Regions from separate parts of the Homo sapiens genome. Here all the other regions are linked to region 4. The links are contacts of gene promoters, found by promoter capture Hi-C in blood cells and fetal thymus (Javierre and others, 2016). All regions are on one chromosome and are shown on one strand. The core of a region is centred on a gene start or on the middle of the fragment in contact, and the rest is flanking DNA. Distances in the headings are between cores, read along the strand shown. Region 1 holds the start of ST20-MTHFS (ST20-MTHFS readthrough). Region 2 overlaps ST20-MTHFS (ST20-MTHFS readthrough). Region 3 overlaps ST20-MTHFS (ST20-MTHFS readthrough). Region 4 holds the start of TMED3 (transmembrane p24 trafficking protein 3).

Region 1 (3,294 bases), core at 184-2,683, 610 kb before region 4:
CCCCGTCTCTACTAAAATACAAAAATCAGCGAGGCGTGGTGGCGCCCGCCTGTAATCCCAGTTACTCGGGAGGCTGAGGCAGGAGAATCGCTTTAAACCGGGAGGCGGAGGTTGCAGAGCCAAGATCGGGCCATTGCACTCCAGCCTCGGTGACAAAATATAATAATAATAAAATTAAAAAGGGCTTAGCATAGTATCTGGCCAGTAAGAAGAAATTATGATTATTATTTTGACCTTAGACCTCTCTTAACTGTCTGAAATTCGGGTTTCTTAAAGGACACAGGCGGTCTCTGAGGCTCCCGCCAGCGGAAACAATCTCCCATTAAAATAGGCATCGGTTAAATATTTGCTGAACAAAGTAAACTACGTCTCCCCGAATCCCATTGAGCGCCTACTCGAGATCCGGACCGGAGCCGGGCAGGACGGGCCCGTCGGTCCCACACGCCGTATAAGTGGGTGGAGAATACCCCACACGCCCAGACCAATAGGCGGGGTGAACGAGGACCGTGTTCACCAACTCAGCCCGGCTCGCGGAATGCCTTCTGTTCGCCTCCGGGCTTGCAGTGGCTTTCCGTCGCAGGTCAGGCCGCGTTCCACTTCCGCCGGCAGTCCAGACACGCCCCTCCGGGTCCAATCCCCGCCCCTCACACACCTGGCCCCGCCCCGTCGGGAGCTCGGCGGTCCTCTCTGCGCTAGGTCTTCTTAGCGCCCGACGGGGCCACGCCCATCCCCGACGCTCTGAGGTCACCTACAGGGCCGACCCTCGGTGGGCGGAGGGACGGAGGGAAGATGGCTGCAGAGACCGGATATTGGCGCTGCCTCCCCGAATCCCGGACCTGCGCTGAGGAGGCGGTTCATCTGTGGCCAGCGGTGCTTCGGGACCCGCGCTGGGGGAACCCTGGCGACGGGGCCTGGCCCTGCTATATGCGGGGGCCTCGGCTGGAGTGAGCGGCGTGGACGCCTCTTTCCTCCGGCTCTTCCCTTGTTGCTGCGAGAGCGAGAGGGCCGCGGGCGGCGGAGGCAGCGGGGCCGGGATGGAGGACGTTAACTCTAACGTGAACGCGGACCAGGAGGTGCGGAAGCTGCAGGTGCCGGTGAAGAAGCTGGGGAAGCAGCACGAACAGCCGAGGAGCCGCTCGCGCTGTGCTGGGCCCCGGCTCCATCGCGGTTCGCCGGCTCCTCCACTCCCTCCTACGGCGCGGGGTCCCCTCGGGGCTTCCCCTTGGGTCTCAGCGCAAAGTCGGGCGGCGGGGCCGGATGGACCCGAGGCGGACGAATAACGAGGAGCTGCGAGACGCCACCTTCTTGCTGGCGGCGGGGGAGGGCGGCTTGCTAGACGACCTGGAGCGTCTGTCAGGCTAGGAGGAGGGGGAGGAGAGCTGGTGAGCGCCGGGCGCCGGGCGGGGCTGGGCGGGGACGCCCCGGTGGCGGAGGACGTCCCGGAGGATCCCTCTGGTCGGGCGCCTGGCTTTGTGTAGCCAGCCAGGTCCGCTCTCGGCGGGTACTCGTGGTCTTGCTCTGGCAGAGGGGAGGTCAGTTGGAGTTGGGGGTTCGAGGCTTGCAAGTACAGGGCTTGTAGCTCCTTCTCTGGATTGTGGACCCTCTGGGTGCTGGGCCCTATTGGGGTTGGTGGGTTGGTTGGATCCAGAAGGGCTGTTCGCCGTGGGGAGGAGTCGGAGGTGGGAAACTGCTTTGTAGGCAGGGATTCTGCTTTGTATAGGAGACCAGCTTTCGGATGCTGGTCTGGGCATTTTGGATGTTGGGGAGGGGTTTGGCTTGATGAGGTATCACCAAGTTCGGGGGGTGCAGACCAAAGTCGCCGACGTCTATGCAGCGGTTGGTGTTTGGGATCAATTTCTAGCGTGGATGGGGAGACCATGTGGATCAGCACTCCCCTTTAGGTAGTGGGGTAAAGCTTGCTCTGTGTGAAGAGGTCAGAGGATGGTGGTGTTTTGTGTGAAGAATCAAGGGTGAAACAAGAGCCCTGGCTCTGATATTTTAAAACAAGAATTGAGTCTGGCATTTTGCAGAGCTCTGAATTGACATTTATCACATCTATCCTTCATTTCCATGTCCTCCTATGGGCAGAAAAGAGTCCTATTTTAATACCTAAACCAAAGCTGTATTGTCATAAGCCACTTCTTGATGAAATTGTGACACACACCTTAATATCACTTTCATAAATAGGAAATGGGAGGCTTTTCTCCTCATTTTATTATAAAGATGTCTGTGGGAAATTCTCTTAATTCATCCTCTTTAAAATTTTACCTTTTAGCTAAAATGTCTCTGTTGAAATTCAAATTTCTAACTTAGTGAAATCGAAATCATTCATAGACTGTAGTATTGCAGGGCTCGAACTGTGCAGTGTTCTGAGGTAGTTAAGAGCTTTGCTGGATTCAGGCCCTGGGTTTGCCCAGGCCTGTATGACCTTGAGCAAGTTATTCTGAGCTTCACTTTCTTCCTCTATGATGGAGAAAATAATGATAGCACTTACCTCTATAGAGTTATGAAAATTTAGTAAGATAATCCATGTATGCATTTAGCACTGTTGAGATCTTGGCTTACTGCAAGCTCCGCCTCCTGGGTTCACACCGTTCTCCTGCCTCAGCCTCCCGAGTAGTTGGGACTACAGGCACTGGCCACCACTCCCTGCTAATTTTTTGTTTTCGTATTTTTAGAAGAGACGGGTTTCACCGTGTTAGCCAGGATGGCCTCGATCTGACCTCGTGATCCTCCCGCCTCGGCCTTCCAAAGAGCTGGGATTACAGGCATGAGCCACCATGCCCAGCCTATTACTCTTAAGCCTAGTTATTTAAATCAAACATTTAGTGAGCTCTTACATGATGTTATAGGAGACTCTGAAGATTCTCAACTGTTGATTCCTGTTCATAAGGCAGTTATAGTCTTGTTGAGAACTAAGTTTTATGCAGATAAATAAACTAGAAAGTGTATGGTGAATTGCCGAAAGAGAGAACAAAAGTACTGTCAGTGCGCAGTAACTGGGAAGAAAACAGTAGTCCAAAGTAGAGGGGCCAAACTTTGAGGAGGAGGCTTTGGAGTCTGGAAGTGAGGAAAGAGTGGGAAGGGCATTTTATGCTCTGACAGCTACAAGAGCAGAGTCAGAGATATTTGTAACTCCCAGTTAGGAGATTTGAATAACAGAAGTACTCTTGAGTATATGGTGACAAACCTTTATTTTTTATTTACTATTTTTTTTTTTTTTTGAGACGGAGTCTCGCTCTGTTGCCCTGGCTGGAGTGCAGTGGCATGATCTCAGCTCACTGCAACCTCCGC
Region 2 (3,243 bases), core at 260-2,759, 550 kb before region 4:
GTTAGAATCAGATTCGGCTGCATGTAGCAGAAAACTCCAAAGTATCAGTGAAAACTTCAAAATATCAGTGAGATGCTTGGAAAAGAAGTCTGGGAGTTGTATTTATAGTCTGTGGCTGTTGTACAGGCCCCACAGTCATTAGGGACAGATCCTGCCGCATATGCCATATGGTCCTGCCTGGTATCTCAAGCTTCGGCTATCAACTCTGAATTGTAGTCAGCAGGAGGAAAGAGAGGGTGTTGGGAGAAAAAGAGCATCCTTCACCTTGAAAGTCCCATTTGTCAGAACTTAGGCACAAGGTCATACATAACTACCAGGGAAGGTGAGAAATGTGGTGTTGCGGTGGGATTCATGGCCTCCTGAGTAAAGTTTTCTGCTACTAAGGAGAAAGAGAGAATGATGTCCAGATGGGCAACCAGCAGCCTCTGCTGCATTCAGCTCAAGGCAGGTTGTGATTTCAGTTGGTGTCATGGCCTGAGCTGAGGCTGGAGGCCCACGTTGTGAAGGGTATTGTATGTCACACATCTGGGATTTGAACTTTATTTTGTAGGTGCTGGGAGTTAGTTATTGAAAGACTTTAATCATAGGAGTAACATGACTAGTTCTATGTTTGGGAAAGGTTGTTCTGCCAGAAATAAGGAGGACAGGCTGTCCCAAGGGACAGCCAAAGAAACTGGGAGTGGACCATCCCTTGGGAATCTGATGGATTCGAATGGATGAGAAATGATGACCACTTTTAGAAATGGAGAGGATAGAACAAGTTCTGACATATGCAGCATGTAGAGTCTCCAGGCCACTTGAGGCTGTTGAGGGACAGTCTGGCTTTGCCATCTGCATGTCATGCTCTTAACCTAGGCAAAGAATGCAGAAGAGAGAGGAGATGTAGGGGGTTGGGGGACACATAGTGAATCCCGTTTGAGGTGGCTCCAGGACCTCCCAGAAATGCTGGTAGATGGCTAGTTGGATATATAGCTCTGGAGGTCAGGACATAGGAGATATTGATTCAGGACTTGCCAGAGTATGGTCTTGGGGTGTGCCCTGATATTACAAACAGGGATCTTAGTGGCTAGGTGATGAGGCCATGGCAAATGTAGATGGACCAAGATCAATTTGCCTTTCTAGATGAGGTTTTCTAGGTGAAATGTTTTTGAAACTATTTTGTAGCCTAGTATAATTTATAAAAGTAGAGAGAAACTATAAATATAAATTTGGAAGGGGTTAGCTAAAAGGAGAAAACAGCAGAATCTTCATATATATAGAAATGGATATTAATTTGCTAGAATTAAGAGACTGCAGGTAAAGATAGTTTTTTTAATACCTCTTTTTGCTGTAGAAAGGACAGGATAAAATGATAAAGGGATGCTGGAATGAGGAATGGTAACTTTAGGCAAGATAGTCTTCTGTGAGGGCTGATATGATCAATGAGAGTAAGACATTAGAAATACAAGAATTGTCCTGCTGCTCACCCATCAGCATTTTCAGTTTCTCCTTGCAAAAGTAGTAATTAACTTTGTACTTTGAGCTGTATGTTCAGTTAGTGATAAACCGTAGATAAAAAGCAGATTTAATTGGCTGACCCCAGGTAAGACTTGCCTCTCTCATGTACCCTTTGAAGGTTTAACAAATAAAATTTGAGGGAAAGGTTGATGTTACTTATAGGGTGTGTTAGTTAGTTTTTTGGGGGTGGGAAGGAGGCATATTTATGTGCAAGCTGCCAAATATTTGAGATAAGGACATAGTCTTTGAATGAAAAACAGGGATATGAGAGGATTGATTCAGTTAGCCGTCTTGGCCAACCCAAGTTAACTGTACTTCATCTTAGTCTATGTTGGTGTTAGAAACAACAAAAAGGAAAAAAAAAAGCCAAACAGTAGAGCAACAATTCATTCATTCATAAAAGTAATTACATGCCATCTAACTAATCACATGGTAAATAATTTAAATGGTTTAGAAGGGTATGAAAGAAAAAGTCCCACCCCTCTTCTTCCCAGCCTGTTCCCCAGATGTGACCACTGTTAACATACTTGTGTATCCTTCTAGATATATATATTTGTATCCTTTTAAAAAATTTATACAGATAGGATCGGAGTTCACATTTTGTTTTGCATCCTACTTTTTCACTTGTTGATAAACCATAGAACTCTTTTCATAGCAACACATATAGATTTAGCATAGTGTTTTAAGTGGTTACATAGCATTGATGTGCTCTAAGTTATTTAACCAGTCTTCTGTTGATAGCTATTTGGGTTGCTTCTGTTTTTTAGGTATTACAAATAAAAATAAAAAAGAACATCCTGATAGATATTTTTCTGCATAGTTATGCAAGTAAGTCCATGGGATCAACATCTATCCATGAAATGGCTATGAATTCTAAATTTTTATAGGTGTTTCTGTATTGCTTACTAAAAAAGGTTATGCCACTTTACGTACTCATCACCAACACATGAGAGTATGTTGACCTCTCCCTGAGTGAGTGAATGGCCGAAATAACAAATGAACGTGCATTAATGACTACCAGTTGTGTGGTAGCCTCCATGTGATGCCCTGGAAACAAAAAGATAAATAAGGGGCAGTGGTGTCTGGCCATAGGAGTTCACATTTTGTTGGGGAAGACAGGTGTATGGAGGGGGACGATGGATAAGGAGTGGTTAGGATCAAGGTTTTGGTCTTAGGTGGAGTTGAGTCTAGTTACTGACTGCTGCATACTAGCTGAGTGGACATGAGTAAACCCCTTCACCTAAGCCTCTGATCATTTGAAAATGAGGGTAATAATATCTGCTTCACTAGATTGTTTTGAAGATTAAATAGGAAATTTACATAAAGCTTTTAGTACAATGCCAGTGCATATAAGTGCTTGATGATGATGATGACGACGATGACTATTCCACATGAACTAGTGATTTCAGTCCTGGTGCTAAGGATCCCATTGGGATGTGCCCAGAGTGCTCTGGGAACACAAGATGGAGATTTCTCTTTGCCTAAAGTGCATGAGAAGGCTTCAGAAGGGAAGTTGTAATTAAGTCTTTAACTTTGAATAGTGGTTTGCCATGAGGTTGTATCAGAAGGAAACATACCCCTTTTAATAAGTCTCTCAAGAAAGTACACTGTAACCGGAAACCTCATTAATATATTGAAAAAGTTATTCTCAGAAGAAATTCATTGTGGGCATCTGTGTGAATTTTCAACCTTGGAAGTAACTTAATTTTGTCTTATCAGTATTTCTGGTTTTGTTTTGAAGTACTA
Region 3 (2,956 bases), core at 1-2,500, 590 kb before region 4:
TTCGCCTGCCTTCCCTCTTCTTTTCGCCCAGGTATCCCTTCCAAGGAATTCTTCTCCTCAGAGAAGTCTTCCTTGATCAACCCATCTAAGAAAGTACCACTATCACTCTCTGTCTCCCTGCCCAACTTTATTGCCTTCATAATAGTTTTCATGACTGGACATCCCATTGCATATTTATTTGCTTATCTGTTTATTGTCTGTGTCTGCCATGAGAATGTGAGCTTAGTGAGGACACGGATCCTGTATGCTTTGTTCACCACTGTGTTTCCAGTACTTTAACTGATACTGGCATGTGGCCAATGCTCAGTGAATATTTCCTGAGTGAACAAAGGAATAGTCTTTAGAGAAGTGAGAAAGCATGATACTTGCCTGTATCTTTTTTTTTTTTCCCCATACAAAGTCTTGCACTGCCACCCAGGCTGGAGTACAGTGGTGTGATCATGGCCCACTGCAGCCTTGACTTACCAGGCTCAAACAATTCTACCAACCCAGCCTCCCAAAGTGCTAGGATTACAGGCATGAGCCACTGTGCCTGGCTGCCTGTATCTTTAAAAATTCTGAGGTTCTGATTTTCTTTAGATTACTGATACTGTATATTATTTTATGCTTTAGGTTTTGTTGAAACCAAGGTAGCTGAATTTAACAAACTATCACTGTTCCCAGAAATAATAAGGCCTGAACAATTCTTATTTACTACTGCATTACTGATAGGATATTGAATCCTTATTTGTATATTTATTTTTATATAATGGTCTTAAGATACAAATAGCATCATTAAAGAAAATATATTTGAAAATAACATTTTTGAAAGGAAGAAAAGTCACTCCCATCACCCTAACATATCCACATGCAGACATTGTATGCAATTATAATTAGGGTGTACATAAGAGTTTTTTGGTGTGACATACAAATATTTTCAACACTGTCTCACATACTCCATGTTAACATTAGGCATTAATTTCTAATGTCTACAGAATAGTTCATTAATTTGCCATATCATAATTTACTTAACCAATTCCCAATTGTTAGACAATTTGGTTTTGATTTTCCCCCTTTTATTTATTTATTTATTTTTTGAGACAGAGTCTCACTCTGTCATCCAGGCTGTAGTGCAGTGGCTTGATCTTGGCTCACTGCAACCTTCACCTCCCAGGTTCAAGCAATTCTCCTGCCTCAGCCTCCTCAGTAGCTGGGATTACAGGCATGTACCACCACACCCAGCTAATTTTTGAATTTTTAGTAGAGACAGAGTTTCACCACATTGGCCAGGCTGGTCTCGAACTCCTGACCTCAAGTGATCTCCCCACCTCAGCCTCCCAAAGTGCTGGGTTTATAGTTCTGAGCCACTTCGCCCAGCCTGGTTTTCCCCTTTTAGATATAATGGTTCAGTAGTGAAGCATAGGTATGCTTTTCTGGTGCCCCCTACCTTCCAATATTTTAGAAGACTGCCTCATGATAAATTTCTAACAGTGGAGTAACTGGTTCATAAGATGTGTGTATAATTACGATATTCTAGCATACTGGAAAACATATTTTCTTTTCGAAAGTATTATATCAATAGAACAATATCATAGCAACCTTATCAGTGTGGGTGGTACTATTAATAATTTTGAGGGTTTAATAGGCATCAAATAAAGCCACTTTAATAGGTCTAAAAAAAATAAGACTTTGTTAAAATGTACATTTCTTTAACTGCTATTAATGTTTTTCTCATATACTTGTGAATGATTTATATTTCTCTGTTTAATGGTCTCTCCTTTTTAAACTATTAAGGGCCTGAGAATTTTCTCTCACATTTGAATGAACACTTTCATGGTATATGTAAATATTTTCCTAGTTTATTGTTCTTTTTAGTTTTTCATAGTTAAAAAAATTTTTAATCTTCATCTGGCTGAATTTATCAATATTTTCTTTGTTCACTGTCCTTTCTTTAGACGTTGATGTATATGACATGTTAACTGATCAATGATAATAGACAATGATTATCGTTATAATAAAAGTCATTTCAGAGGGTCTCATCATACTTGCGAAATATGGTGTTTAGGAAGGGGCGTAATGAAGTGGATACCTCCCTAGAGTGTAATCTATGAGTATGTACTGGCAGAAGGGAAAGAGGAAGAAGAGGGGCAGTTTCCTTCCTCTGTCAAGGCATGACAGCATGTCTCAGAGCACGACGCACACTTACGTAGGCAGAAAATGGCTTTCTAAGTCTTTCAAATGAAATCCCCCTGGCTGGTGGTATTCATCTGCTTTGCCAGTGATGTTCATAAAATGATTCCAAGGCACCGCAGAGCTCTCGAATCTCTCCCAACTATCAAAGGGTTATGCTTGGTTTACGTTTCAATATTAGTTACACTTTGCTCTGAGCTACTTGCAGGCATTTGTAACCCCAGGTTCTGGAACCTGTAAGATGCAGCCACAAATGTTTGCTAGATGAACATTCGAAAAAATTATTTTAACAATTTTCGAATATTTTGGCACTTGTTTGGAAATGTATGGAGTGGAAAGAAGTAGGGTATTTGCATTCTAATCCAGGTCCAGGCACCAAGGGTTTGGCTAATCTTAGATAACTGATTTTTTTTGTGGGCCTCACTTTCCTCATTTGTTAAGAGAGAGCATTAGGCTAGATGATCTCAGAGGGACTTTTCAGTGAGGATTCTATGATTATAGATTGTAAATTAAATAAAATGTCCAGTTAATTGGGTTATCCTACATTTTTAAAACTATGTCCGATCACAAAGAGAGTAGATTATAAAAGAAACCATCAACCTTTTCATAGCTTCAAAGGTATTGGTTTAATTTGGATTTACTGTGAGTTCTCATGAGTTTCAATACAATGCAGTTTACAGTATAATAGAATTCATATTACAAATATAAGTGCATTGAAATCAATGTTGGACAATTAAACAAGAACAAGAACAAAAAGACTTTTTATCCTCTAGAGCTGTGCTTGCTG
Region 4 (3,308 bases), core at 194-2,693:
CAAAAGTTACTAGTCCTGCTCAGCAAGCTTTGCAAAAAGCAGTGAGTATCCTGTTGCTAAGTGTGTTTAAACCCAGGCTGGACACACTTTGACAAGGGATTTCCGCCCTGGCAGTGACCAGATGACATCTGAGGTCCCTGCAACCACAGAATTATCATTCTTTTTGTCATTGCACCTAGGTTGCCCATGTTAACCCAGTCACAATTTGCATGTTGTCCACAAAGACCTGAAAGTGGACAAATCAGTGACTGAGACTACCACATAGAAGTTGTCTCCAAGCGCAAGCTTCCTTCAGTGCCTCTAACCACAGAGGAACTGGTCAAATAGCTTGCCCCCATTCCTGCTGCCCGTGGCCCCTCATTTCTGAAGTGCCTATCAGCATGCGTCCACAAGCAGATAGCTGTCTGAGTATGATGCCCACTTGGCCCCCAACCCTAGACCTGCTCACTAAATATCGGGGCAGACTACTCACTCAAGACCTGCTCCTGTCACCTGTGGGCCACGGGATCTCTCAAAGGAGACAGGAATACAGGAACTGAGCTTTTCTAAGCCATATGGCAAGAGCCAAGTCTTGCAGCCACACCGCTCCTTGTAAACACCGCCAGGCCTCAATGGCTGCACTGATCCCTCCTTTCCAAAGTGCCCATTCTCACTTCTGCTGCCCTCACCTCACTCCAACTTTAAACGCTGGAGAGGGGAGGAATAAACTAAAACTATGAGCCCACTTCCTCTTGCTGCCATTTTTCAGTACTCGAAGGCACAAGGTGGTCTAAGAGACTGGGGTTAGAGAGCCTGTGTCCAGCCGATCAGAACTGCCGTTGGTTAGTGTCTCGGGGGCCTGCGGATATCTCTTTGGCCAGCTCCCCAGGCTGCGGGATCCGCCCTGGCGTCCCCATCCCGGGCTCGCACCTGCGGCGCTGACTACCTCCTCGCTGGCCAGGCTCGTCTCGGGTGGGCCCTGATGACCCAAACCTTCCTCCTCACGGGGAAGTCAACTGGTCTCCGGGGACTCCCACCCCATGCAGCCTCCCTGTAGCCTGTGGCTAATTCGAGCGCCTCCAGTCAGGGGCTAGCCAGTGTCCAGGTGAGACCTGGGAGTGGAGGGAGAAGGGAGCGCTGCCGGGCGCCCGGCCTCACCTGGTAATCCAGGGAGAACTTCACGCCCTGCTCCACCTCCTCGTGGAAGCACTGCTTGGCGTTGTCCGGCAGCTCGAAGGTGAGCTCGGCCCCGCAGGGCTGCTCGGCCCGGCGCAGGAGCAGCAGCAGAAGCAGCACGGAGGCGGAGCGCGGGACAGTGCTGCCCATGATGCTCTCGGTCCCGTCTCGAGGGCCGCGGCTCGGGCGCTGCGCCCCCGGCGGGCTGGGGCGACGACTACCGACCGGGTCCTAGGAGGATGTAAGGGGATAGACGTGGCACCAGCGGAGCTCTGCGCTTCCGGGAGGGCCGGCGGCTCAGTGCGCAGCCGCGCGCTCAAAGTGGGCCCGGGCACCTTCCGCCCGCTGCGCGTGCGCGCTGGCCGCGCTGCGCCAGGGGACACGCCCCCCCCACCCCCCCGCAACGCCTCTCCCGGCTCGGAGGGTGGGTCTCCGCGGAGGGGAGGTGGGGCTCCACCTAGCGCGCCCCTACCCAGAAGAGGGAGAAGCCCTCCCCGCTGTTCTGCGCGCTCCCGGACCCGCAGGGCTGAGCATCCCCCCAGGTCGACCCAGGTCCACCCTCCAGCTGCTGCAGCACGAAGCACGTGGGATTTTACTCCCTCTATAAGGCTCCGCTTTTGACAGGCTCTGTAACTTCAGTCTCACACTTCCCTCGAGAACCAGTCTCCTTGTCTTGAAATGGGTGTGCCCAAACCTAACATCCACAGTAGTTAGGGAGCTAGGTGAAAGATAAGGGAACGCTGGGAACCCGATTAACACTCCTTTCTTCATTCCCATACCCTTCCCAAGGTGAAAGAGTGTGCGAAGGGGGTGGGGAGTGGGGAGAGTAAGTAAAGACCCATCATTACACCTGCTCTGGGAAAAACACGAGCGTGCTCACACACAAACGATCTCATGAAAATCCAAGTAAAGTCTCGCAGCGACTTCAGGTATATTTTGGCTGTCAGGCTCGTTGAAAATTCTTTTTGCACAAAACTGTCATTTTTGCACTTTGACTTCTTAAAAGCTCTGAAAGCAGATAAATTGGTTTACTGTCTTACCCATGACCACTGACTTAAGATTCTTTTGTATAATCGTAACTATAGGTATAGTTTTATATTCACTGTGATCCAATAAACAAAGAGAAAAGACGTAGATTGTGATGTCGATACTCAATAAATAACTTATTCAGGAGAGCATTACTAGACGTGGTATATCTTGACTTCAGGAAAGAATGTTACTGCCCATATAGATTTCCGCTGGCCACATTCACTATGGATGAACACGCTAATGTGTGAAAGCAATCTGTAGGCTTGGAAATAACATGCATGCATAACATAGTTAATAATATTGACTGGCTCAGTGACAGGCATGGAAGAGGTGTTTAGTAGTGTCCCTTAAGCTTCCTTCCCTGGCACGGTCCTATTTCACGTTTTTTTTTTTTTTAGGAACTGATAGAAAACATGGAAGTAATAATCATCTGATCTAGATGAACTAAGTGGAGAAATAAATGACAGATATAAAACCACAATTGGCCGGGAGTGGTGGCTCACGCCTGTAATCCCAGCACTTTGGGAGGCTGAGGCGGGTGGATCACGAGGTCAAGAGATCGAGATCATCCTGGCCAATGTGGTGAAACCCCTTCTCGACTAAAAATACAAAAATTAGCTGGGGGTGGTGGTGCGTGCCTGTAGTCCCAGCTACTCGGGAGGCTGAGGCAGGGAGGCAGGGGTATTGCTTGAACCTGGGAGGTGGAGTTTGCAACCTGGCGACAGAGCAAGACTGCGTCTCAAAAAAACAAAACAAACAAACAAAAAAAAAACACGATTGCCCTGGCACAGGTGGAGTGCTCTGCTAAGACTAACAAAAAGAAATTTCGGGCTGGGCACCATAGCTCATGCCTGTATCCCAGTATTTGGGGAGGCTGAGGCAGGAGGATTGTTTGAAGCCAGGAGTTCGAATCTAGCCTGGGCAACATAGTGAAACCTCGTTTCTACAAAAACAAACAAACAAAAATTAACCAGGCATGGTGGTGTGGGTCTGTAGTCCCAGCTACTTGGGATGCTGAGGTGGGAGGATTGCTTGACACCAGGTGTCTGAGGCTACAGTGAACTGTGATTGCACTACTGCACTCCAGCATGGATGACAAAGGGAGACCCCATCTCTAAAAATCA

The links. The method cuts DNA at HindIII sites, captures the fragments that hold promoters and counts their contacts. A CHiCAGO score of 5 or more calls a contact.
Region 1: a contact is called between the fragment with the promoter of ST20-MTHFS here and the fragment with the promoter of TMED3 in region 4, in 12 of 17 cell types (fetal thymus, non-activated CD4 T cells, naive CD8 T cells and 9 more). The highest score is 17.6, in fetal thymus.
Region 2: a fragment that was not itself captured here is called in contact with the fragment with the promoter of TMED3 in region 4 in 1 of 17 cell types (megakaryocytes); the score reaches 7.9 in megakaryocytes.
Region 3: a fragment that was not itself captured here is called in contact with the fragment with the promoter of TMED3 in region 4 in 1 of 17 cell types (naive CD8 T cells); the score reaches 5.4 in naive CD8 T cells.

The regions. Positions count from the first base shown.
Region 1 is chr15:79,921,231-79,924,524 of GRCh38, reverse strand. ST20-MTHFS (ST20-MTHFS readthrough) reads left to right here and starts at 1,433. Exons shown (of 4, transcript NM_001199760.2): 1 at 1,433-1,486. ST20 (suppressor of tumorigenicity 20) reads left to right here and starts at 773. Exons shown (of 3, transcript NR_037653.2): 1 at 773-1,073. It overlaps ST20-AS1 (ST20 antisense RNA 1), which reads right to left and starts at 1,754. Exons shown (of 1, transcript NR_028330.1): 1 at 1-1,754. RefSeq lists enhancers at 1-194, 396-445, 876-1,055 and silencers at 586-735, 1,356-1,405, 1,416-1,485, 1,506-1,615. The HindIII fragment of the contact is 4,343 bases long and covers 1-1,917 here.
Region 2 is chr15:79,860,690-79,863,932 of GRCh38, reverse strand. All of the region lies in intron 3 of ST20-MTHFS (ST20-MTHFS readthrough), which reads left to right. All of the region lies in intron 2 of MTHFS (methenyltetrahydrofolate synthetase), which reads left to right. Among named protein-coding and RNA genes, the nearest start is that of MTHFS, 35 kb to the left of the region's middle. The HindIII fragment of the contact is 2,633 bases long and covers 193-2,825 here.
Region 3 is chr15:79,899,492-79,902,447 of GRCh38, reverse strand. The region is part of intron 2 of ST20-MTHFS (ST20-MTHFS readthrough); the gene reads left to right. The region is part of intron 2 of ST20 (suppressor of tumorigenicity 20); the gene reads left to right. Among named protein-coding and RNA genes, the nearest start is that of MTHFS, 4.0 kb to the right of the region's middle. RefSeq lists a silencer at 191-240. The HindIII fragment of the contact is 4,190 bases long and covers 1-2,956 here.
Region 4 is chr15:79,309,247-79,312,554 of GRCh38, reverse strand. It overlaps TMED3 (transmembrane p24 trafficking protein 3), which reads right to left and starts at 1,443. Exons shown (of 3, transcript NM_007364.4): 1 at 1,138-1,443. The coding sequence starts at 1,305. RefSeq lists silencers at 1,270-1,339, 1,550-1,599. The HindIII fragment of the contact is 2,251 bases long and covers 288-2,538 here.